Regions from separate parts of the Homo sapiens genome. Here regions 1, 2, 3, 4, 5 and 6 are each linked to region 7. The links are contacts of gene promoters, found by promoter capture Hi-C in blood cells and fetal thymus (Javierre and others, 2016). All regions are on one chromosome and are shown on one strand. Each heading gives the region's core, a stretch centred on a gene start or on the middle of the fragment in contact. The rest is flanking DNA. Distances are from core to core; before and after follow the strand shown. Region 1 overlaps LOC105378676 (a long non-coding RNA gene). Region 2 has its middle 25 kb from the start of PPT1. Region 3 overlaps LOC105378671 (a long non-coding RNA gene). Region 4 overlaps PPT1 (palmitoyl-protein thioesterase 1). Region 5 overlaps PPT1 (palmitoyl-protein thioesterase 1). Region 6 overlaps RLF (RLF zinc finger). Region 7 holds the start of EXO5 (exonuclease 5).

Evidence for each region. The method cuts DNA at HindIII sites, captures the fragments that hold promoters and counts their contacts. A CHiCAGO score of 5 or more calls a contact.
Region 1: a contact is called between a fragment that was not itself captured here and the fragment with the promoter of EXO5 in region 7, in 1 of 17 cell types (fetal thymus). The highest score is 5.6, in fetal thymus.
Region 2: a contact is called between a fragment that was not itself captured here and the fragment with the promoter of EXO5 in region 7, in 8 of 17 cell types (naive CD4 T cells, naive CD8 T cells, naive B cells and 5 more). The highest score is 9.2, in naive CD4 T cells.
Region 3: a contact is called between a fragment that was not itself captured here and the fragment with the promoter of EXO5 in region 7, in 2 of 17 cell types (naive CD8 T cells and activated CD4 T cells). The highest score is 6.3, in naive CD8 T cells.
Region 4: a fragment that was not itself captured here is called in contact with the fragment with the promoter of EXO5 in region 7 in 4 of 17 cell types (naive CD8 T cells, non-activated CD4 T cells, total CD4 T cells and 1 more); the score reaches 7.3 in naive CD8 T cells.
Region 5: a fragment that was not itself captured here is called in contact with the fragment with the promoter of EXO5 in region 7 in 8 of 17 cell types (total B cells, total CD4 T cells, naive B cells and 5 more); the score reaches 9.0 in total B cells.
Region 6: a fragment that was not itself captured here is called in contact with the fragment with the promoter of EXO5 in region 7 in 5 of 17 cell types (naive CD8 T cells, naive CD4 T cells, total CD4 T cells and 2 more); the score reaches 6.8 in naive CD8 T cells.

Annotation. Positions count from the first base shown.
Region 1 is chr1:40,850,507-40,853,706 of GRCh38, forward strand. The region is part of intron 1 of LOC105378676 (a long non-coding RNA gene); the gene reads right to left. Among named protein-coding and RNA genes, the nearest start is that of CITED4, 10 kb to the right of the region's middle. RefSeq lists an enhancer at 1,493-1,582. The HindIII fragment of the contact is 4,104 bases long and covers 1-3,200 here.
Region 2 is chr1:40,120,231-40,123,275 of GRCh38, forward strand. No RefSeq gene overlaps it. Among named protein-coding and RNA genes, the nearest start is that of PPT1, 25 kb to the left of the region's middle. The HindIII fragment of the contact is 1,890 bases long and covers 704-2,593 here.
Region 3 is chr1:40,145,680-40,148,796 of GRCh38, forward strand. It overlaps LOC105378671 (a long non-coding RNA gene), which reads right to left. Exons shown (of 3, transcript XR_947232.3): 3 at 2,022-2,572. Among named protein-coding and RNA genes, the nearest start is that of RLF, 14 kb to the right of the region's middle. The HindIII fragment of the contact is 9,755 bases long and covers 1-3,117 here.
Region 4 is chr1:40,074,201-40,076,700 of GRCh38, forward strand. All of the region lies in intron 8 of PPT1 (palmitoyl-protein thioesterase 1), which reads right to left. Among named protein-coding and RNA genes, the nearest start is that of PPT1, 22 kb to the right of the region's middle. The HindIII fragment of the contact is 2,472 bases long and covers 15-2,486 here.
Region 5 is chr1:40,091,494-40,094,230 of GRCh38, forward strand. It overlaps PPT1 (palmitoyl-protein thioesterase 1), which reads right to left. Exons shown (of 9, transcript NM_000310.4): 2 at 905-1,014; 3 at 552-679. Among named protein-coding and RNA genes, the nearest start is that of PPT1, 4.4 kb to the right of the region's middle. The HindIII fragment of the contact is 1,680 bases long and covers 411-2,090 here.
Region 6 is chr1:40,184,318-40,187,214 of GRCh38, forward strand. All of the region lies in intron 1 of RLF (RLF zinc finger), which reads left to right. Among named protein-coding and RNA genes, the nearest start is that of RLF, 24 kb to the left of the region's middle. RefSeq lists a silencer at 2,229-2,418. The HindIII fragment of the contact is 6,433 bases long and covers 1-2,897 here.
Region 7 is chr1:40,507,477-40,510,654 of GRCh38, forward strand. It overlaps EXO5 (exonuclease 5), which reads left to right and starts at 1,291. Exons shown (of 4, transcript NM_001346953.2): 1 at 1,291-1,432; 2 at 1,975-2,149; 3 at 2,257-2,314. EXO5-DT (EXO5 divergent transcript) reads right to left here and starts at 1,219. Exons shown (of 2, transcript NR_187365.1): 1 at 1,113-1,219. RefSeq lists enhancers at 1,328-1,577, 1,608-1,697. The HindIII fragment of the contact is 5,200 bases long and covers 1-2,530 here.

The sequences.
Region 1 (3,200 bases), core at 391-2,890, 340 kb after region 7:
AGTCCTCACTTTACCTGACTTTTCAGCAGCATTAGGAACCCCTGACCACGCCCTCCTTTGGGAAACATCTCCCTGGGCTTTCAGGACACCTTTCTGCTGTTTCTCTCCCACTTCCCCAGCTGCTAATTCTCGGCCTCTATCCAAGGTTCTGTCCTTGGCCACATTCTTTTATCACTGGGCATCATCATTCCCAAGGCAACAATGGATGTGCTAATACCCCCCCAAACAAAGTTACTGTCAGTCCAGACCTAATTCCTGAGCTCCAGACCCATTTATCTGGCCCTCTTCCTCCTAGATGTCCACCTTGGATGGCCTGATGTGTCCATCCTAATCTATCCTGCTCCCTACAGCCTGCTCTTCCTGCTAGGATTCACCTCATGGAAGAGTCACTCTGTGCCCCAAGCCACACCCCTGGGAATCATTTTCCACTCCTTTCCTGTAGCCTCCACATCAGTGGGTCATTATCGTGACTGCAGGATCCATTCCCATCTTCTTCCCAGTAGCAGAACCTCTGAATTCTGCTTACACATATGGCCACCCAGAATAAAGACTACATTTCTGAGCCTCTTTTGTAGTTAGGGGCAGAAAACTTCCAGAAAGTTCACGACTCCTCTTTTCTCTTTTTTTCTGGCTGGAATGTTGATATGGTAGCTCGAGCAGCCTTTTTGGATCATGAGGTCTAACCCACAAATGACAAAGCAACAAGGTGGTGGGGCCTAGATGCTGACACTATGGATAACTACACCCATTCTGGACTACCTACCTGGTTCTTTTTATTTAAGCTACTGTTTTTCTGTCACTCAAAGCCACGTGCATAATCCTAAGTAATCGAGATAGAGTCATTCATTCTTCAAAAGAATATTCATGTATGCTAGACATTGCATTTCATGCTTTCTCAGCGCTCTCCATTTCTCCCACCTGCCCCTCTCAAATCCATTCTACTCACCACAGCCAGAGTGACCTTTCCAAAACACAAACCCAACTGTTTCCACTCGGCTCATGTCGTCTGTGACTCCCCATTACTAACAGAATCAAGTTCAAGCTCCTCAGCCTGCCACTAAGGGTCACCCCTCTTTGACCCTTGCCTACTCCGAGCACAACCCTTCCCCCGCTGACCATGCACCCTACACACTAACCACCCCGGACTTGTTGCCTTTCCTAGTAAAGTCTTATTCATTCATGTCACTCGGCATTTGCACACATTGTCACCTCCCTTGGAATTTCCTTCTTTCACGTGCTCATGTTCAAATTCTACCCCATCCTTCCCACTGTGTAAGTACCTAGTATGTGTTATGAACTGTGGTCAGTGTTTTCACAGCAGCAACTCATGGGTAAGGCCCCTTACTATCCTCATTTTACAGACAAGGAAACTGAGACTCAAAGAAGGGAAGTGAGTTGCCACAGATGAGTATTCATAGTGATGACTGCTACCAGGTCTACTAAATCTAAACAGTTCTTTTTTTTTTTCTTTGAGACAGAGTCTCGCTGTGTCACCCAGGTTGGAGTGCAGTGGTGCGATCTCGGCTCACTGCAACCTCTGCCTCCCGGGTTCAAGTGATTCTCGAGCCTCAGCCTCCCGAGTAACTGGGACTACGTGCCACCATTCCGGCTAATTTTTGTATTTCTAGTAGAGACAGGGTTTCACCATGTTGGCCAGGCTGGCCTCGAACTCCTGACCTTAGGTGATCTGCCTTCCTCGGCCTCCCAAAGTGCTGGGATTACAGGCGTGAGCCACTGTGCCCAGGCAACAATTCTCTTTATGTAGGACTCAGGCCTCTGATATCTTCCCCATCTGTACCAAGTACTCTGGGGCATAGGAGACTTGAGTTCTAATCTCAACTGAGCCACTTATTACTGTCACTTGGCTGTGGTGGAGGCTGCTGGTTGTCTACCAAAATCCATTTCCCCTCTTCCAGAGTAATTAAGTTACTGATGAACACATTGTCGCCAGCTAGAAACCGTATTTCCCAGCCTTCCTTACTGCAAAGTGTGCTCATGTAATTAAATTCTTGTCAAGAAAATCTGAAAAGTGACATGAGTCACTGGGCCTTAGAACACCAGGTGTGCTCACCTCCTCAGTCTCACCTTCCTGAGAGCCAGACACAAAGATGTCCATGACCCAGATTCCGCTCTGCAGAAAAAGATAGAAAAGGAAAGAAAGCCAACTTGGACTTTGAGGAGACATCTTGGCCCACGAGGTTGGAGTCATGAAAAGCAGAGCAACAGGAAGCAAGCAATCTGGGTCTGAATGACGGAGTGGAATCAGAAAGAAGTCTTTTCTGCTCTGCAAGCCACTTTAACATCTTTCTGGGCCAGGTACGGTGGCTCATGCCTGTAATCCCAGCACTTTGGGAGGCCCAGGCAGGGGGATCATTTGAGCCCAAGAGTTTGAGATCGGGCTGGGTAACATAGTGAGACTCCATCTTTACAAAAATTAAAAAATTAGCTGGATGGCGTGGCGTGCGCCTGTAGTCCCAGCTACTTGGGAACAGGAGGATTGCTTGAGCCCAAGGAATTCAAGGCTGCAGTGAGCTGTGATTGTGCCACTGCACTCCAGAGTGAGGCTCTGTCTCAAACAAAACAAAATGAAATCCACTTTTCTTGTTCTCTTTGTTGTAGCAGCTAACACTTAAATATTTCTTACTATGTGCGAGGCACCATCCCAATTATGTTAAATATTTTAACTCAATAAATTACTAGCTGTGTGGAAGCAGGCAAGTCATTTCGTCTCTGTAAGCCACAGTTCCCTCATCTCTCTATAACCTGGAATAATAATGCGCTAGCTTAGATGACAGCGAGTCAGGTGAGATATCATGAGTCAGTACTGAATGACCTAACAAGCAGACAGCTCATGTGTTTAAGGTACTAGCTGCAAATTTGAAAGACTTTGATGCGAAGAAGAAAAAGGGGAGGACGAGGAGGAGAAGAAGATAAAGTATTGCTATTGCAAAATAGCCATGGAAAGATTTGGGGCTTCCTTACACTGATTTTACAGCTAAGCAGTATTTTATTTTGAATCACATACAGGGGAACAAGAAAACTTACCCAAGCTACGTGGGCTATAAACGAGGGAGAGGTGGTTTCCCAAAGGAATTTTTGGGAAACCTTTTATCAGGAGAAGGGTGACTAAATCCTGGAAGGCATAAATAGCAGACGCCTACTTCTGCCCTTGGGTCTTTCTCCGCTGGCTGAAGAGCCCC
Region 2 (3,045 bases), core at 399-2,898, 390 kb before region 7:
CTGCACTCCAGCCGGGGTGACAGAGCGAGACTCCATCTCAAAAAAAAAAAAGGAAAGAAAAAAGAAAGAAAAGAAAGAGCAGTAACTTCGGGCGTTGCCATGGAAATGGTAAACTGACATGGCACACTAGTGGGAGTGTCTTACAGAGAGGTGCTTTGGACTTTTCCCTGTTTTAGCTATTTCTCTATCTGGTCCGAGGTTCAAGCCCTGCCTCTGGAGATGAGTTTCACATCCTACCTCAATGGCATTTACAGTTGCCTCACCTTCTTCCTGAGACATTCTGTACCCAAATCTTTGCATGACTGGCTCATTCTTGTCATTAGTTTTTCAGCTCAAATGGGAGTCCCTCGGAGATGCCTTCCCAAGACCATCAGTCTACAATACAAGGCAGCACTGTTTTTTATTTTCTTCAGAGCAATGTTTACTCTTGTCCATTTTTGTTTACTTGATTATTATCAAACTCTTCTGTCTAAAGGAGGACTAACCAGTAGAATTTTCTGCAATGATGGAAGTATTGTTATATTTGAGCTGTCCAATATAGTAGCCACTAGTTACCATATGACTCCTATGCACTTGACATGTGGCTAGTGTGAATGAGTAAAAGAATTTTTAATTTAATTTAATTTAATTTTAACTGATTTAAATTTAGATAGCCACATGTGGCCAGTGGCTACTGTACTGGACAACACAGTTCTAGTATGTAAGCTTTGAGAGAGCAGGGATTCAATCTTATGCTTTGCCATATCTCCAGAACCTAGAACAATTAAATACTTCTAACCAAGATATTCTTTGGAGGATGGAGTCTTGTCAGTGTCTAACATTTGGGTCAGATGTGGCCAGCAATGAGTCATTCATTGATTTGGCTTTTGTCTTAGGAACATCAAGATGAAGATCAAGGAGATCCCTTTTCTTCAAAACATTGCTGAAAAAGATAGTGTAACAACATTGCAGAAAAAATTTTAAAAGTAAGTAACCTCCTACAATTCTTCCAGCAAACATTGCAACTGTTTTAATTTTTTGCATACTGTCTTCCAGATTTTGTTCACATGCAGGTGTCTTTTCAATATTTTGCAGACACAGAGGACACCATCAAAACTTTGTCCTTGGGGGCTGGGCACGGTGGCTCATGCCTGTAATCCCAGCACTTTGGGAGGCCAAGGCAGGCGGATCATTTGAGGTCAGGAGTTTGAGACCAGCCTGGCCAACATGGTGAAACTCTGTCTCTACTAAAAATACAAAAATTAGCCAGGCGTGGTGGCGCGTGCCTGTAATCTCAGCTACTCTGAGGCAGGAGAATTGCTTGAACTCAGGAGGTTGAGGTTGCAGTGAGCCAAGATTGCGCCATTGCATTCTAGCCTGTGCGACACAGACTCCATCTCAAAAAACAAAAACAAAAACAAAAACAAATACCTTTGTCCTTGGAGAACATCTCCAATGCCCAGCCAGGTCTTAGCTCAGAAGGAACCTGACTATTGGAGTCATTTCCTGTGGCTCACCCAGTGAAGAGATCTTACCACCCCACAGCCACTTGGAGAGCCCCGTGCATTGAAGACACTGGGTTTGGCCCTGGGTATATAGCAATTGAAGATCATTTGTGAAGGACTGATATTGAAGAAGGCAGGGGCTATGCTGGCTTATTCATTCATCCAACAACTACTATACTGTGCTATTGAATATCATAAATATTTTCCTTATTTGTACAGGGTCTACTATTTTCCTTTTTATGGCTGAGTAGCAGACACACCAAAATCTACTAAACCTATTCTTTGTGGATTGTAGACCATTTAACTTATGCCCATTATTGGATCTTACAGAATTCTGTAATTAACTCTTCCTGCATGGAGCTTTTTACTTTTGTTGTATTATTTCCTTATAGTGTAGTAGTTGCTTATGTGTATAGGTTCTGGAAAGAGATGATCTGGTTTTTAACACTATCCATGGTAGTTTGGGCAAATTTCTTAACTTCTCTATATCTCAGTATTTCATTTATCAAGAAGGGTCACTAATAACACCTTCCTCATAGGATTGTTGTGAGAATTGAAATGAATAAATTACATGTAAAGTGCTTGGTTCTGAGTTAGTACTCTATACAGAATAACAACTGCTGTTATTATTAATTCTTGATCCAGGAGTAATTTCAAGGATATTAATATTTTCAAGACTGTTTCTAGATTGTGGTAATGGTTGTACAACTCTGCAAATATATTAAAAGTCATTGAACTATACACTCAATAAAAGCCTTTTGCTAATTATGGCTATTTTGTTTTCCCAAATGGTATTCCTATTTTCATTCCTATCCTCACCTCAATTTTATCACAATCTCATCAGAAATGGGGGCTACTATTTTAAATACAGTTTTCTTTATTTGAGAAAGGTCAAATAGAACCCTTAATGTGCTTTCTCTTGCATTTTTTACCTTATTACTAGCAACGAATGCATGTATTGTTTACTCTTTGCTTCCTATTGAATATTTGCTCCCTCTTGCTCTAACTCTGCCCATTTTACTTCTGTGGCTGAAGTCCTTTTTCTTGAATAATCTATTTCTTAGTATGTCTTAATTTACTAATAATAGTGAGTTGGTCTCTAAAAGGAAAGCTTTGAAAAAGCTAATTGTTTTCTCCTTAAAGGGCTCCTCAATATTCTACCAGACCTATGTTCTCATTAGCCAAGGGCCTTCTCCCAACATAGTCTTTCCATCCTAATGTACCTGCAGCATTTTTCCCAGGGCCTGCACTCTAAAGACTTGATAAGAAAAACTTTGAACACATGCTCCTTTCTTCTTGCTTTTCATATCTACTGATTGGGCTTGGAATTCTGCCAAGATAAACAGTGTCCTCTGCTCTTCAGGAAAATGCAAGGCTTCTCAACCATCTTTGAGGGGCCTGCTTCAGATGACAATTTCACAACATGTTCACAGGGCAAACTTGGATTGAGAAGACCCCCAATTTAGAGACAATAAATCTCCAACTGGAAAGAAAGCATCACTACTTTCCCTAGTACAGTAATGTTAATTGAAATATACAGAATGTTGTAACTCTTGCAGTT
Region 3 (3,117 bases), core at 263-2,762, 360 kb before region 7:
TAATCAAAATCAGCTTCTGAAGCACATCCTCTCCCTCACCTGGAAGCCACTCTCACTCTTCAAATGCTTCTCATTTGAAGACCTTTAGAGGACATTATTTTGTGTTATCTATATACTCTCATTCCCCAGGCATGGAGAAGTAGAAATGGGTAAGAGAAAATATGGGAGAAAGTTTCCTGAGCACAAATTAATAGGACTTAGAATCTAACCTGATTAGATTTGGGGGGTAGAGAAAGAAAGGATAAAAAATAACCGTGGGAGAAGCTAGGGTGTTGGAACAATGGTGGTTTAAGATCTTCTCATTCCCTTTACACCAATTGTACCCTCCCTAAGCAAACTTCCGGTGTTAATTTTGCTTCCCAAGCTGACTTTTCTGTAGAGATACCATTATATTTCTTAAGGTAAATTAGTAATTTGGGCTCTTGTGCCTTAATCACAACCTAGGTGAAATGATAGAATCAAGTTATTGAATTTGCAAATCAGAAATCCTAGCCTAATCAATCAGCTCCTTTGATGATCCACAGTATGGGTCTGTCCTCTTGATCATTTTGTCACTCACAGGACAAAGTCGTGAAAATAGATGGCATCCATGGTCAGTAGGTGTGGAGGGACTACAGTAAAGGAAACTAAAGTTATCCTCTGAAGCTGAACCTTATAGGAGTAATACTAGTGACACTGAGTGCTTACTGTGCATCTGGCCTCATTCTCCGCTCTTTGGATAAATCTCATTAGGACCCACAACTATGAGAATTATGAGACACATGCTGTTACAATGTCCACCTTAAGATGAGGAACCCAAGGCTCAATGAAATTAAATGATCTAAAGGCACACAACGAATAAGCAGTCGGAGCTGGGATCCAAACCTGACAAACCTGACCCTAGAGCCCTCTGGGTTTTACCCATAATGAGAAAAATTTACCTTGACCATAGTAGTTGTCCACAATGTTCCATGAATCTAAACAGATGGATCTTAAAAATGTAACCACTCTAACTCATCGTTTGTGTCTTACTCATGATGTATTGAGAGATATCTAGGTTCACTCAAGCCGGTGGTTGGGTTGGGGGGTATGGGGGGGACCTGGGAGTATCCATAGAACTGGAATATGATAAAGAAAGTTGCAATTAAATTAACTGTATTATAACTTCTGAGGGAGAAAAGAATATAAAACCCAGGACTTGTTTTTTTTCATGATGTATTTTTAGCCTCTAGGACAGTACCTGAAACATGGTAGACTTTCAGTGAATATTTGTTGAGTAAATGAATGATGCCACTCAACACTGTCCTGCAATCTTCCTGCACATATCTAGAATGCATTCTTTTTTTCTCACTCTAAAACAACTCTAACAAAGTTTTTACTGTCTCCTCAAAGGCTCAACATTGCCTTTCTCTACCACCTCAGCTTTCTCTCACAAGTCATGGAGCAAAAAGAAGCACTCAGGCAATGACTCCCAAATCTCCCACTGCCAAATCTATACACCTACTTGCATCTGTACCCATACTCTCCAGATTCCCTCCTTTTGAAATAAAAATACATATCTAATTTCTATTGCAGATCAAACTTCTTGTATTCTGGATGCCATGCCCTCTTGCCTTCTCAAGGACTTTTCTCCTGCAATCCCCCCACCCTGTTTTCTACATTAAATTTTCTCCTATTTTCCTGTATCATTTCCATACACATGCAACCATGCTCTAGAATCTCCTGTTGACATGGTTTGGCTGTGTCCCCACCCAAATCTCATCTTGAATTGTAATTCCCACGCGTTGTGGGAGGTACCTGTGGGAGGTAACTGAATCATGGGGGCAGATCTTTCCTGTGCTGCTCTCATGATAGTGAGTAAGTCTCACAGGATCTGATGGTTTTATAAAGGGGTGCTCCCCTACACAAACTCTCTGCCTGCCACCATGTAAGACACGACTTTGTTTCTTTTTGGCCTTCTGCTGTGATTGTGAGGCTTCTCCAGCCGTGTGGAAGTATGAGTCAATTAAACCTCTTTCCTTTATGAATTACCCAGTCTCGGTTATGTCTTTATTACAGGCATGAGAACATACTAATAAACTTATCTTTAAGAATTCCTTCCAAAACCTCATATCCCCTTAATAGCACAGCCCCGGTTTTATTCTCCTCTTTCTCAGAAAAACTTCTGAAGAGGGTAATTGCCCTGCTCTTTTTACTTTCATATCTCACATTAATTCTTCAATCTTCTTCAGACAGGATTCCATACCAGAGATCTACAGAAACTTCTCTAGTTGAGGTTACCAACCAATACTCATGATGTCACATCAAATGGACATTTGTGTGTCCTCACCTTACCCAAACTCTTGTCAGCAGCCTACAAAGCTGACCATTCAGCTTCTTCCTGCCGCTTTCTTCTTTTGTCTTGAGGAATATCACACTCTTGGTTTTCCCTCTGTCTGTTCAGTGGGTTCTGAACATTCTTTGATGGCTGGATCCTACTCCTCTGACATCTTAGTGTTGGCAAGATCTTGGACCCTCCTCCTTCTTTCTGTTTTGAGGTTGCAGACCGTTGGCTCATCAGTCACACTGGACTCACAGGTGGGTATTATTTGGCCTGCAGTTTTCAAAATAGGAAATCGTGTTAAAAAACAAAATCAAATAAAAGAAAAACGACAACAACAAAACCAAAACTGAACTTCCAATTTATCTTGGAGAATTAGCAGACCTAGTAAAATGAGTTCTGTATTCTCATATGGCAATAATTTTCTGGAGCTGAGTACCTGCTTCTTGGGTCATTTCTTAATCAACTCATTCTTTCCAAACATCTTATACCCAGCCTGTGTCATTCATTTAGGTGAGCTGACAAAGGCTAGTAGGAATATAAATTTATGACCCTTAGTTTATACTCTCCCCAGTGGATCTTATTTAAATACCCATTTAAATACCATATGCTTTAAAAAGTCTTCTTTCATAACATTGAGTGCACACAATATGCCCGGAACTACTGTACCAGACACTGGGGATACAGCGGTGAATGACGCAAGTCACTCTACTTCCAAAGAACTTACCTTCTATAGAGGGGAGACACACACAACAGTGATAACATAAAGCCAAATAATATTTGGGCTGGGCGCAGTGGCTCATGCCTGTAATCCCAGC
Region 4 (2,500 bases), core at 1-2,500, 430 kb before region 7:
ATAATTAATTAAAAAGCTTAATGAAGTTTTGGAGTAAAATGGTAAGTACGTTAACTTGAGATATATTTTCAAAATGCAGTTTGTCCTGAGTATTAAAATTGAGGTGTATTTTCAAAAATGCCAAAAAGAATATCTCCTACTTCTTTTTCTTTCTCTTTTTTCTTTTTCTTTCTTTCTCTTTCTTCCTTTCTTTTCTTTCTTCTCTCCTCCCCCTCCTCCTGTCCCCCCCGCTTCTTCTTCTTCTTCCTCTCTCTCTCTCTGTCTCTCTTTCTCTTTCTTTCTTTCAAGACGGAGTCTTGCTCGGTTGCTTAGGCTGGAGTGCAGTGGTGCGATCTCGGCTCACTGCAACCTCCACTTCTCTGGCTCAAGCGATTCTCCTGCCTCTGCCTCATGAGTAGCTGGAATTACAGGCGCATGCCACCATGCCTGGGTAATTTCTTGTATTTTTAGTAGAGATGGGGTTTCACTGTGTTAGCTAGGATGGTCTTGATCTCCTGACCTCAGGTGATCCACGTGCCTCGGCCTCCCAAAGTGCTGGGATTACAGGCGTGAGCCACCACACCCGGCCAGTTTTTTCTAAGTATTAAAAATAGATATGCAATTGAGATTGCTCTATACAGTGTTCTAGATTCTGATTTTTGAAAAGCTCAGAGTCAGAGGACTACCTATAGGTGGGCAAGCCATAGACGACACTGCCTCAGAATGCCATAGGTAAGTGGGACTGAGCCAAAGACAGAACATTAGCTAGGTAACTTAAAAAACATCCAACCCAGGACAGGCGCGGTGGCTCACGCCTATAATCCCAGCACTTTGGATGGCCAAGGCAGGCGGATCACCTGTGGTCAGGAGTTCAAGACCAGCCTGACCAATATGATGACACTTTGTCTCTACTAAAAATACAAAAATTAGCTGGGCATGGTGGCGGGCACCTGTAATCCTAGCTACTTGGGAGGCTGAGACAGGAGAATTCGCTTGAACCCGGGAGGCGGAGGTTGCAGTGAGCTGAGATCATGCCATTGCACTCCAGCCTGGGCAATGAGCAAAACTGTCTCAAAAGAACAAAACAGAAAAACCATATCCAACCGTTAGGTAACAAACCCTGGACACTTTCATATTCTGGAGTTGAAAATGTCATTACCCATAGCCTAGATGCTGGAGAACAACCTCTGGTTGGGAAGATAAGCAGTTACGACAGTGCCAGAATGGTGCTTCTGCCGTGGCCAACATCATTTTGAGTTTTCACAGTAAGGAAGTTCTTAGCTGTAATTTCTCAAGCCTTTTTTTTTTTTTTTCTCAAATCAGATTCTAGCTTCCCTTTTTACCTCACCACCCAAGTTGAGGCACCCAGTGCAAAAGAAAAGCCAAGCCAAGAGGAGACAAATGACCTCTGAAATAACATGGAGGAATTCTAGTAGACGGTGATTGGTTCAGATGTAGTACTTAGCATTTTGGAGAGTCTGTCTCCAATATAAAATCCTTAGGGCTGGGCGTGGTGGCTCACACCTGTAATCCCAGCACTCTTGAAGGCTGAGGCAGGTGGATCACCTGAGGTCAGGAGTTGAAGACCAGCCTGGCCAACATGGTGAAACCCCGTCTCTACTAACAAAACAAAGTATTAGGCATGGTGGCGTGTGCCTGTAATCCCAGCTACTAGTGAGGCTGAGGCAGGATAATCGCTTGAACCCAGGAGGTGGAGGCTGCAGTGAGCTGAGATCACACCATTGCACTCCAGCCTGGGTGACAAAGCAAGACTGTCTCAAAAAAAAAAAAAAAAAAAAAAAAAAAAAAAAATCCTTAAAGTGTAGAAGGCCCCAGAACTGGAGGTGGCAAATTACTGCAACTTCTGCTTAAGATACAGGACCTACTGCTAAACAAAATTCAAAACTCTAGTCCCACTCAACCTCCTGCAGGAGCCTCCCTTGTCAGTGCGTAATTTAGAAACAGGATTTCACATCTATTAATGTTTAAAAGTAATGTCCCTTGGCCAGGCGCACTGGCTCACGCCTGTAATCCCAGCACTTTGGGAGGCTGAGGTGGGTGGATCACCTGAGGTCAGGAGTTCAAGACCAGCCTGGCCAACATGGTGAAACTCCATCTCTCCTAAAAATACAAAAATTAGCCAGGTGTGATGGCACACACCTGTAATCCCAGCTACTAAGGGGGCTGAGGCAGGAGAATTGCTTGAATCTGGGAGGCAGGGGTTGCAGTGAGCCAAGATTGCTCCACTGCACTCCAGCCTGGGTGACAGAGCGAGACCCCGTCTCAAAGAAAAAAAAAGGAATGCCCCTCATCATGCATGGAGGCTTCCTGGATTTGTAGCAGACTGTACCTCAGCCAAGGCAGCTAGTTTTAAAACCTTTTTATCAAAAGAAGGGAATCAGACATGAGGTTTCTCTTGTTGTTTGGAAACCATAAGGTTTCAGGATGTAGTGGATTTTTGTAACCCAGTGCCTAATAAGCTAGAGCACATAATCAAGAGCCTAACAAGCTTCACCCATAT
Region 5 (2,737 bases), core at 1-2,500, 420 kb before region 7:
TCCCCAAACCCGCAGAGTTTCAGGATTTTCCTGATATGGGCAAATGCAAATATTTCTTTCAACTTTCATAGAAAATAAATTAAGCTCCAGCCAGGCATGGTGGCTCACACCTGTAATCTCAGCACTTTGGGAGGCTGAGGTGGGTGGACTACCTGAGGTCAGGAGTTCGAGACCAGCCTAGACAACATGGTAAAACCCCATCTCTACTAAAAATACAAAAAATTAGCTAGGTGTGGTGGTGAGCACCTATAGTCCCAGCTACTCGGGAGGCTGAGGCAGGAGAATCACTTGAACCTGGGACGTGGAGGTTGCAGTGAGCTGAGATCGCGCCACTGCACTCCAGCCTGGGCAACAAGAGAGAAATTCTGTCTCAAAAAAAAAAAAAAAAGAAAAGAAATTAAGTTCCATAAAGCTTCTTACACAGGAACATTTTAGGAAATTTCCCTTCCAAGATAGGTGACAATCTTGAATTGGAGGAGTGGATTTATCTGAATAAAAGAAACAAAAATCAATTCCATATAAGTGGTACAATATAACAAAAAGGAACGTACAGAAATTGGCCTCCCTGGGAGAATCCCATAGCATTGTAGCCTTGCTGCAATTTAGGATCCTTAGCAAGTGCCTGACACACTGTTGTTACTTGGGAATTGACATTCAAGAAGAAGCTGTTCTCCACGTCCTAAAAAAGAAGCCAGAGAGAAGTGAGAGGATGGGACTGAAAACAACCACTGACATCTTCTCTAAGAGGTAAACTCATTTAGGTTGGTATCCTCACATGAGCCACTCAAGGGTGAAAGTATCACTGTATGATCTGCTGCTGAAAACACAAGGCAAAGCATTTTAACAGTATATGCTATGAAATCAGTCAGCAACCCTTCAAAGGAACAGCTGTGAAGCGCCTTACCTCCATCAGGGTCTTCCCAATCTCTAAAGATAAGACGTAAATTCCAGGTATTTTCTTCTCCACCATTTTTTTAATAGCACCCATGCTTAAGGGATTGCAACAGCTGTCTCCTAGCCAACAAAACACAATGATGGAAACTCATGAGTCCAAATATTGTTTATTGTTTAAAAACTCTGAGGCCTCAAACAGCATTATCAAGGATGTGAAAACAATGTATAGAATGGAAGAAAATATTTGCAAAACAGTTATCTGATAAGGGCTTAATATCCAGAATATACAAGGAATCTATAACTCACTTACAACTCAACAAAAAGATAACCTAATTTAAAAATGGGAAAAGAAATTAAACAGATATTTTTCCAAAGAAGATATACAAATGGCTAACCACTGGCATGTGAAATGCAAACCAAAACCACGATGAGATACCATTTCACACAGACTAGGATGTCTTTAATAATAATTTTTTAATAGAAAATAACAAGTATTGTCAACGATGTAGAAAAATGGGACCCCTTGGACATTGCTGGTGGGAATGTAATAAGCAGCCACTGTGAAAAACAGTTTGGTGGTTTCTCAAAAAGTTAAACATACGATTACTAAATGACTCAGCAATTCAACTCCTAGTTATACACCCCAAAGAAATAAAAACACACGTCCATGCAGAAACTTGCATATAGATGTTAACAGCAGCAGTGTTTGTAATAGTCAAAAGGGAGAAACAATCCAGCAGTCCATCAATGAATGAATGAATAAAATGTGGTATATTCACACAATGGAATATTACTGAGTTATAAAAAAGGAACAAAGTGCTGACACATGTTACAACTTGAATGAACCTCAGAAACATTATACTAAGTGAAAGAAGCCAGACTCAAAAAGCCACATAATGCATGATTCCTTTCATAGGATAAATAAAGAACAGGCAAATCCACTGAGATACAGAAAACTAAGCTGGAGATTATCAAGAAGTAGTAGGAGGGGGCAATAGGGAGTGATTGCTTAATGGCTATGTGTGTTTTTCTGGGGTGTTGAAAAAGAAGTGTTAGTTGCACAACATTGCAAATACACTAAATGCCACTGAATCGTACCATTTTAAATGGTTAACTTTACATGAATTTTTACCTCAATTTTAAAAAACAGAAGAAAGAACATTTTTTGCTTAGCTCCTGTTTATCAAGTAATAACAAGCTTCAAAAGTCCATACAGGAGCTGGGTGTCATGGCTCACGTCTGTAATCCCAGCAGTTTGGGAGGCCGAGGTGGGTGGATCACAAGGTCAGGAGCTCGAGACCAGCCTGGGCAACATGGTGAAACCCCATCTCTACTAAATATACAAAAATTAGCCGGGTGTGGTGGCACATGTCTGTAGTCCCGCTACTTGGGGGGCTGAGGCAGGAGAATCGCTTGAAACTGAAAGGTGGAGGTTTCAGTGAGCCAAGATCATGCCACTGCACTCCAGCCTGGGCAACAGAACAAGGCTCCATCTCAAAAAAAAAAAAAAAAAAAAATCCATATAGGCCAAGCATGGGCTCATACCTATCATCCCAGCGCTTTGGTAAGACGAGGCAGGAGGATTGCTTGAGGCCAAGAGTTCGAGACCAGTTTGGGCAACATAACGAGACCCTGTCTCAAAAAAACCAAAAAGCCCATATAGGATAATTAAGACACCAAATTTACAAATGAAAAATAAGCAGAGGTACACATTCCCTTCCCCTATCACAGGGGATATTTGGGGTGAACAGATGCAAAGTTTTCTCTTCAGGGCCAGGACTAGGGTGAGGCAAATTAAGCATCTAGGACAGCGGTCTTCAACCTTTTTGGCACCAGGGACCAG
Region 6 (2,897 bases), core at 120-2,619, 320 kb before region 7:
TAGAGAAGTGAACCAATGTAGCAGTCTAGATGAGGGATATTGGGGGCCTGGTTTAGGTGAATGGCTACAGAGATAAAGCATAGGGACAGGAGACAAAGATATTTCTGAGATAGAATCAACAAACTTTGGTGTGGTGGTTTCAAAGATAGTTTTTTAGCTCTGGCTCCTGAAAGGAGGCAGATGGAACATAGGAGGAAGAGCATATTTGCTGGGGAAGATGTTTGGTTTTGGACATGCTGAGTTTGAGATTTGAATAGGACATCCAGATGGAAATATGTAATAGGCAGTTGAGGTATATAGCAAGGACTTGAGAGAGTAATTTGAGGGTAATCTGCTTGGGATGTGAATGAGAGCACCGAATAGTCAAATATGGTGCGTAAGTGAGCTAATTTTTTACTTATATATCTGACCCCTTAGTATATATCATAGCCTTTCAAGGGCAGGAATAGAGTCTCCATCCTTACTTCCCAGCACAGTACAAAATAGTAGGTATTTGTGGAATGAGTTTACTGAAACAAAAGAGAGAGGTCATTAATTTGGTCACTGTAGAATGAACTTTAGGAGGTCATCTTTATCATTTATTGCCCCTTTTCTCTTCAGTTGTGATTTCAGTTCCTAAAGAAAAATAAGAGACCGTGGCTGGGTACAGTGGCTCACACCTGTAATCCCAGCACTTTGAGAGGCCAAGGTGGGAGGACCACTTGAGGCCCAGGAATTTGAGACCAGACTGGGCAGCAAAGAGACCCTGTCCCTACAAAAAAAAAGTTTTTTTTAATTGGCTGGGCATGGTGATGCACTTCTCCAGTCCTAGCTACTCAGGAGGCTGAGGTGGGTGGGAGAGAGGATCACTTGAGCCTAGGAGTTTGAGGTTATAGTGAGCTGTGATTGAACCACTGAACTCTAGCCGGGTTCAAGCAATTCTCCAGCCTCAGCCTCCCAAGTAGCTGGGACTAGAGGCATGCGCCACCACGCCCGGCTACTTTCTGTATTTTTAGTAGAGACAGGGTTTCACCATGTTGGCCAGGCTGGTCTGAACTCCTGACCTCAAGTGATACACCTGCCTCGGCCTCCCAAAGTGCTGGGATTACAGGCGTGAGCCACCTTGCCTAGTCCAGTTTTTTAAATGCAAGATTAGGTTGAAAGGATTACAGCCATCCTGTTATTTGGATGGCTGTAATCCTTTCAACCTAATCTTGCATTAAAAAAAAAAAAAAAAAAAAAAAAAAGCCGGGCGCAGTGGCTCCCAGCACTTTGGGAGGCCGAGGCGGGCAGGTCACGAGGTCAGGAGCTCGAGACCATCCTGGCTAACACGGTGAAACCCCGTCTCTACTAAAAATACAAAAAAAAAAAAAAAAAAAAAATTAGCCGGGCATGGTGGCGGGTGCCTGTAGTCCCAGCTACTTGGGAGGCTGAGGCAGGAGAATGGCGTGAACCTGGGAGGTGGAGCTTGCAGTGAGCCAAGATCGTGCCACTGCACTCTAGCCTGGGCTGACAGAGTGAGACTGTCTCAAAAAAAAAAAAAAAGCAAAAAAAAAAAAAAAAAAAAAACCACAAAGGCTGGATGCGAGGTGGCTTTTGCCTGTAATCCCAGCACTTGGGGAGGCCAAGGCAGGCGGATCACTTGAGGTCAAGAGTTCGAGACCAGCCTGGCCAAAATGGTGAAACCCCATCTCTACTAAAAACAGGAAAATTAACCGAGCCTGGTGGCGCACAGTTGTAATCCCAGCTACTCAGGAGCCTGAGGTGAAAGGATCCACTTGAATCTGGGAGGTGAAGGTTGCAGTGAGCCGAGATTTCACCACCGCACCCCAACCTGGGTGACAGAGTGAGACTTGATTAAAAAAACAAAAAGAAAGAAAGAAAATGCCTGGCTAGCCACAGTGGTTCATGCCTGTAGTCCCAGCTACTTGGGAGGCTGAAGTGGGAGGATCACCAGCAGTGATAGAATGAGACTCTATCTCAATTTAAAAAAAAAGTGATAATGAAGAAGATTGATTATTCCAGCCATTCTTCACATACCCAGAGTATGCTTATAGTGGGTATAAGAGATCTCACTACTTAATTTGAACCAACACATGAGGGGGTAAAGATTTAGGAATATAAAAAGTATAAATTAGTATAGAGCAAACTGGAAGTTCCTCAAGAGTATTGAATCTTTGAAATTGTGTAGCTTACAGAAGTCCTGGTGGAATGTCTGTCAGAAGCTATTAGATTGGTGGCAAGAGCGTTCTAAGTGGACAGGTGGATTGTGGAAAGACTAACCCCATCTGTATGCACTCTGTCCTTCTCTTTGCATACTTTAGTTAGCAGTTGGTTAATTTGCATGTGTGGTTTCAGCCATCATGTTGTATTGACTCATTCTGAAAGCTCTGTGAGGATAGGCCACATGTCTGCCCGCCCCCACTGCATCTAGCACTTTATGTGTGATAATCTATTGAAAAATATTTGTCAAATGAATAAAATGGTGAATGTATTCAGCAGACATTTAGTGAGACTTGAGAATGTCCTGTGGGGGTGGAAGTGGGTAGAGGAGTGGTAGGCCTATAAGGATTGATGAGACATAATGTCTGACTTTAAGGAACATAAATCTGGCACTAAATATAAATTTTTGAAACTCCTTAATTCTTAGATTAGCCAATGCAGACAGTAAGTAACTTACTGACCTAAACCAGAATTTTTTTGTAACATAGATTTTAATAAATTTCTTTGTTTTTTGTTTTTTGGTTTTTTTTTTTGAGACAGTCTTGCTGTGTCGCCAGGCTGGAGTGCAGTGGCGCAATCTTGGCTCACTGCAACCTCCGCCTCCCAGGTTCAAGCGATTTTCCTGCCTCAGCCTCCTGAGCAGCTGGGACTACAAGCGCGCGCCACCACGCCCATCTCTAATATTTGTATTTTTA
Region 7 (3,178 bases), core at 41-2,540:
CCAATTTAATGTTTTTCTATTTTTGTTTTAAAATATTTACCTATTCTGAAGTCCAAAGATATTTTCCTATATTATATTCTGAAGACTTTATAGTTTAGGATTTCACATTTAGGTCTTAATCCAGCTACAATTGATTTTTGTGATGAAATGAGAGATAGAGGTCCTGTTTTCTGTTTTGTTTTTTTTTTTGAGACGGAGTCTCCCTCTGTTGCCCAGGCTGAAGTGCAGTGGTGTGATCTCCGCTCACTGCAACCTCCGCCTCCCGGTTCAAGCGATTCTCCTGCTTCAGCCTCCTGAATAGCTGGGACTACAGGTGTGTGCCACCACACCCAGCTAATTTTTGTACTTTTTAGTAGAGACAGGGTTTCACCATGTTGGCCAGGATGGTCTCGATCTCTTAACCTCGTGATCCGCCCACCTCAGCCTCCCAAAGTGCTGGGATTACAGGCGTGAGCCACCGTGCCCGGCCTTCATATTGTCATAGAACCTTCACTGAATAGACCATCTTTTCTCCATGGCTGTATGATGCCACCTTTGTCATAAATCCAGTTTTCAAGTATGCGTGATAAACCGTAAAGAAAAGCAAAGAGTCAAGTATCTGCTTTTGGTAAAATAAATAAATAAATAAATATAAATAAGAAAAGCAAAGTGTTATAAAAGTCGGGCTAGTGGTTTTCTCAGGAAGTGTATCTGTGAAGAACCTGACACTATTCTTTTTTCGCTCTAATGACTTGGCTGTTCATAATTATACTTATCTTTGGTTTATATTTCAGAATAAAATTGTGTTATATTTATCAATAAAAGGTTAGTTAAAAGTAAGCAAACAGAAAAAAAAAAAGAAATATTGATGAGGGGAGCGCCAGCATCTCTCAAAAGTGAGTTCGTGGTTTTGCTCTCAATGGAAAAGCCGGCGGGAGGTGCTAAGGTGGGGATGCTGAATCCACGGATGGCCAAGCGGAGACGCGGCACTTCACCGGGGGCAGCGAGGGGCCCAGACCTTGCTCGGATTGTCCCGGTGGTAACTGGGAGACCTCGCCAGTGAGGGAAGTTACAGATCAGCTGCGCCCGGAATTAAACGACCCACAGACAACGGCGCAAACAGAGGGACTGACCTGCTTTAGTGAGCTCCCAAAACCTGCTCTCGCATAAGCACACCCTCCTCCGCTCACAGAGACGGATTTCTGCCCCAGCCGCAGCCTCGCGAGGTAGGCGGCGCCGCGAGGGCCTCTGGGAAGGCGGTCCGTGGGCAGCCGCGGGGCACTCTGGGACTGGGCTCTGGGCGGCTTTTTTGCGAGTGGCGGGCCGACTGTGTAGTCCGCTCCGGCAGCGCGCTCTGCCCGGCTTCCTCAGTCTCCTCGCCGGGAGCGTCCGGGAGCAGCTCCGAGGCCGCGGCGAAACCAGGTGGAGTCCGAGGTTCGGAGGAGTATCAGAGGTTAGGGGAAGGCCGGAGAATGGGCTGGGAGGCTGCGTTTCGGAGCTTAGGGTTCTGTCCCTGCGATCGCCGCGTCTCCCTCCCTTGGTGGGCGCGGCTCCCGGGAAGCGGCTCGTCTCGTCTCCCCTCACAGGCCGGGTTCCCGTTCTGGACCTTCGCCCTCGGAACACAGTGCTGTTGGCCGGGACTCCTTCCCGAGGTGGACGGCTCCCTGTTCTTATTCCTGGCTCTGCCAGAACTGTAGGAAGTGCTCAGTACACTTTAGGGCATGCATGGCACTCCCTGGGAGACAGTGCTTTAGGGCCAGAGGAAAGATCTTCCCTGAAGGCAAACGCCCGCGGAGCCCACAAGTCCGGGCCGCACTGAACAAGTCAGGATGTTGCCATCGGCAATTCTGCAGAAGGCAGTAACCCATCTGAGAGAAAGAGCCGCTGTCATAAGGTCTCTTGCTTGAGCTGCTGGGTTGAGAATGGAGCTGGAAGAGGGAACTGATCTCGGAGCTCCTTGGGGATCTTGGTTATGTCTGACCCTTTTACTTTCAGGGAGCAGGGATTGGATCAAGTCATTGCATCTAGAGTACGGGGGAACGAAGAAATCATGGAGAGAGTTTGCCCCAGGAGAGAGGCGAGCGTTATGTAACCTAGGATCTGGGGTGGGTAACAGTCTGTGCAGTGTCAATGTGAGAGGAGAAAACACCCAACGTGAGGGAATGGTCAGGTAAGAAAGGACCAGAAGTTCCGGTTCTACCATAGCAAGGACCTAAGTTGCTAATTTAGGTTCTTTAATGCAGACCTGGTCTTTCAGAACTTCTTTCTCTTCCCTAGCCTTGTCATTTCAGCATTCTGGCCTTCCCTATGAGGAGGAAGATCAACGAAGTCACAGGTGAATAGGAGTTTCTCTTCTAAAGTTTCATCTCCTTTGTCAGGGGGAATCGATACACTCTCTCATCTCTTCCTTGGGGAAAAAGAAGGAGATCTATCTTCATCGAGTGCTAATATGCGTACTATATGTTATCACTCAATGGTCGGATATCTCAGTAGGGTTAGTAGGTATTTTAAAAATGTGTCAGTAACTTCAGGAAAACTAGAACCTTGTCCAAGCTTACTCAAAAGGCAAGTAGCATACTACTAAATGCTACCGAACTACTCAGGATTAGGTTTAGAATCCATATCTGTAGGACTCCCAGACTCTTGGCATTATGCTGTTTCCCAGCATCCCATTCACTTACTACCTAACAATTTTGCCATACCTGTGTACTACCTGTATTATTCTATGTTTTTACTTACTTTTTTTTTTTATAAAAATCAAACTTGTCCTAAGAAACAATATCTGTGAAATTAGCCATTTGATGGCTGCTCCAATAACAGTATAGTTATTCTAAGGTGTATCTAAAAATGTTGGTCCATGTGCTATGTAAAATCGTCTCGTGTCAGACATACAAACTACAATTTGGGACACAATGCACTGCATTATGCTCTCTTCTGGATTCTTTTCTGCGTAGGAAAGTCCCAGACACATCTGAGCATCAGTCATCCATCCCTAGTGTACTGTTTTATTCTTATAGATGAATACTTTCACAGAGAATGCCCTGCTTTGTATCTTCTCCAAAAGACATTTCACTTCCCTGTTTAGAACTACCTGTTCTCAATGTTGTATGTAAAACAAGTAGGAACTCCATACATTTCAGGAGCTTCCTCTCTCTTTGGGGAGTTAATGTGTACACAGGAAATAGTCTAACTCTATGCT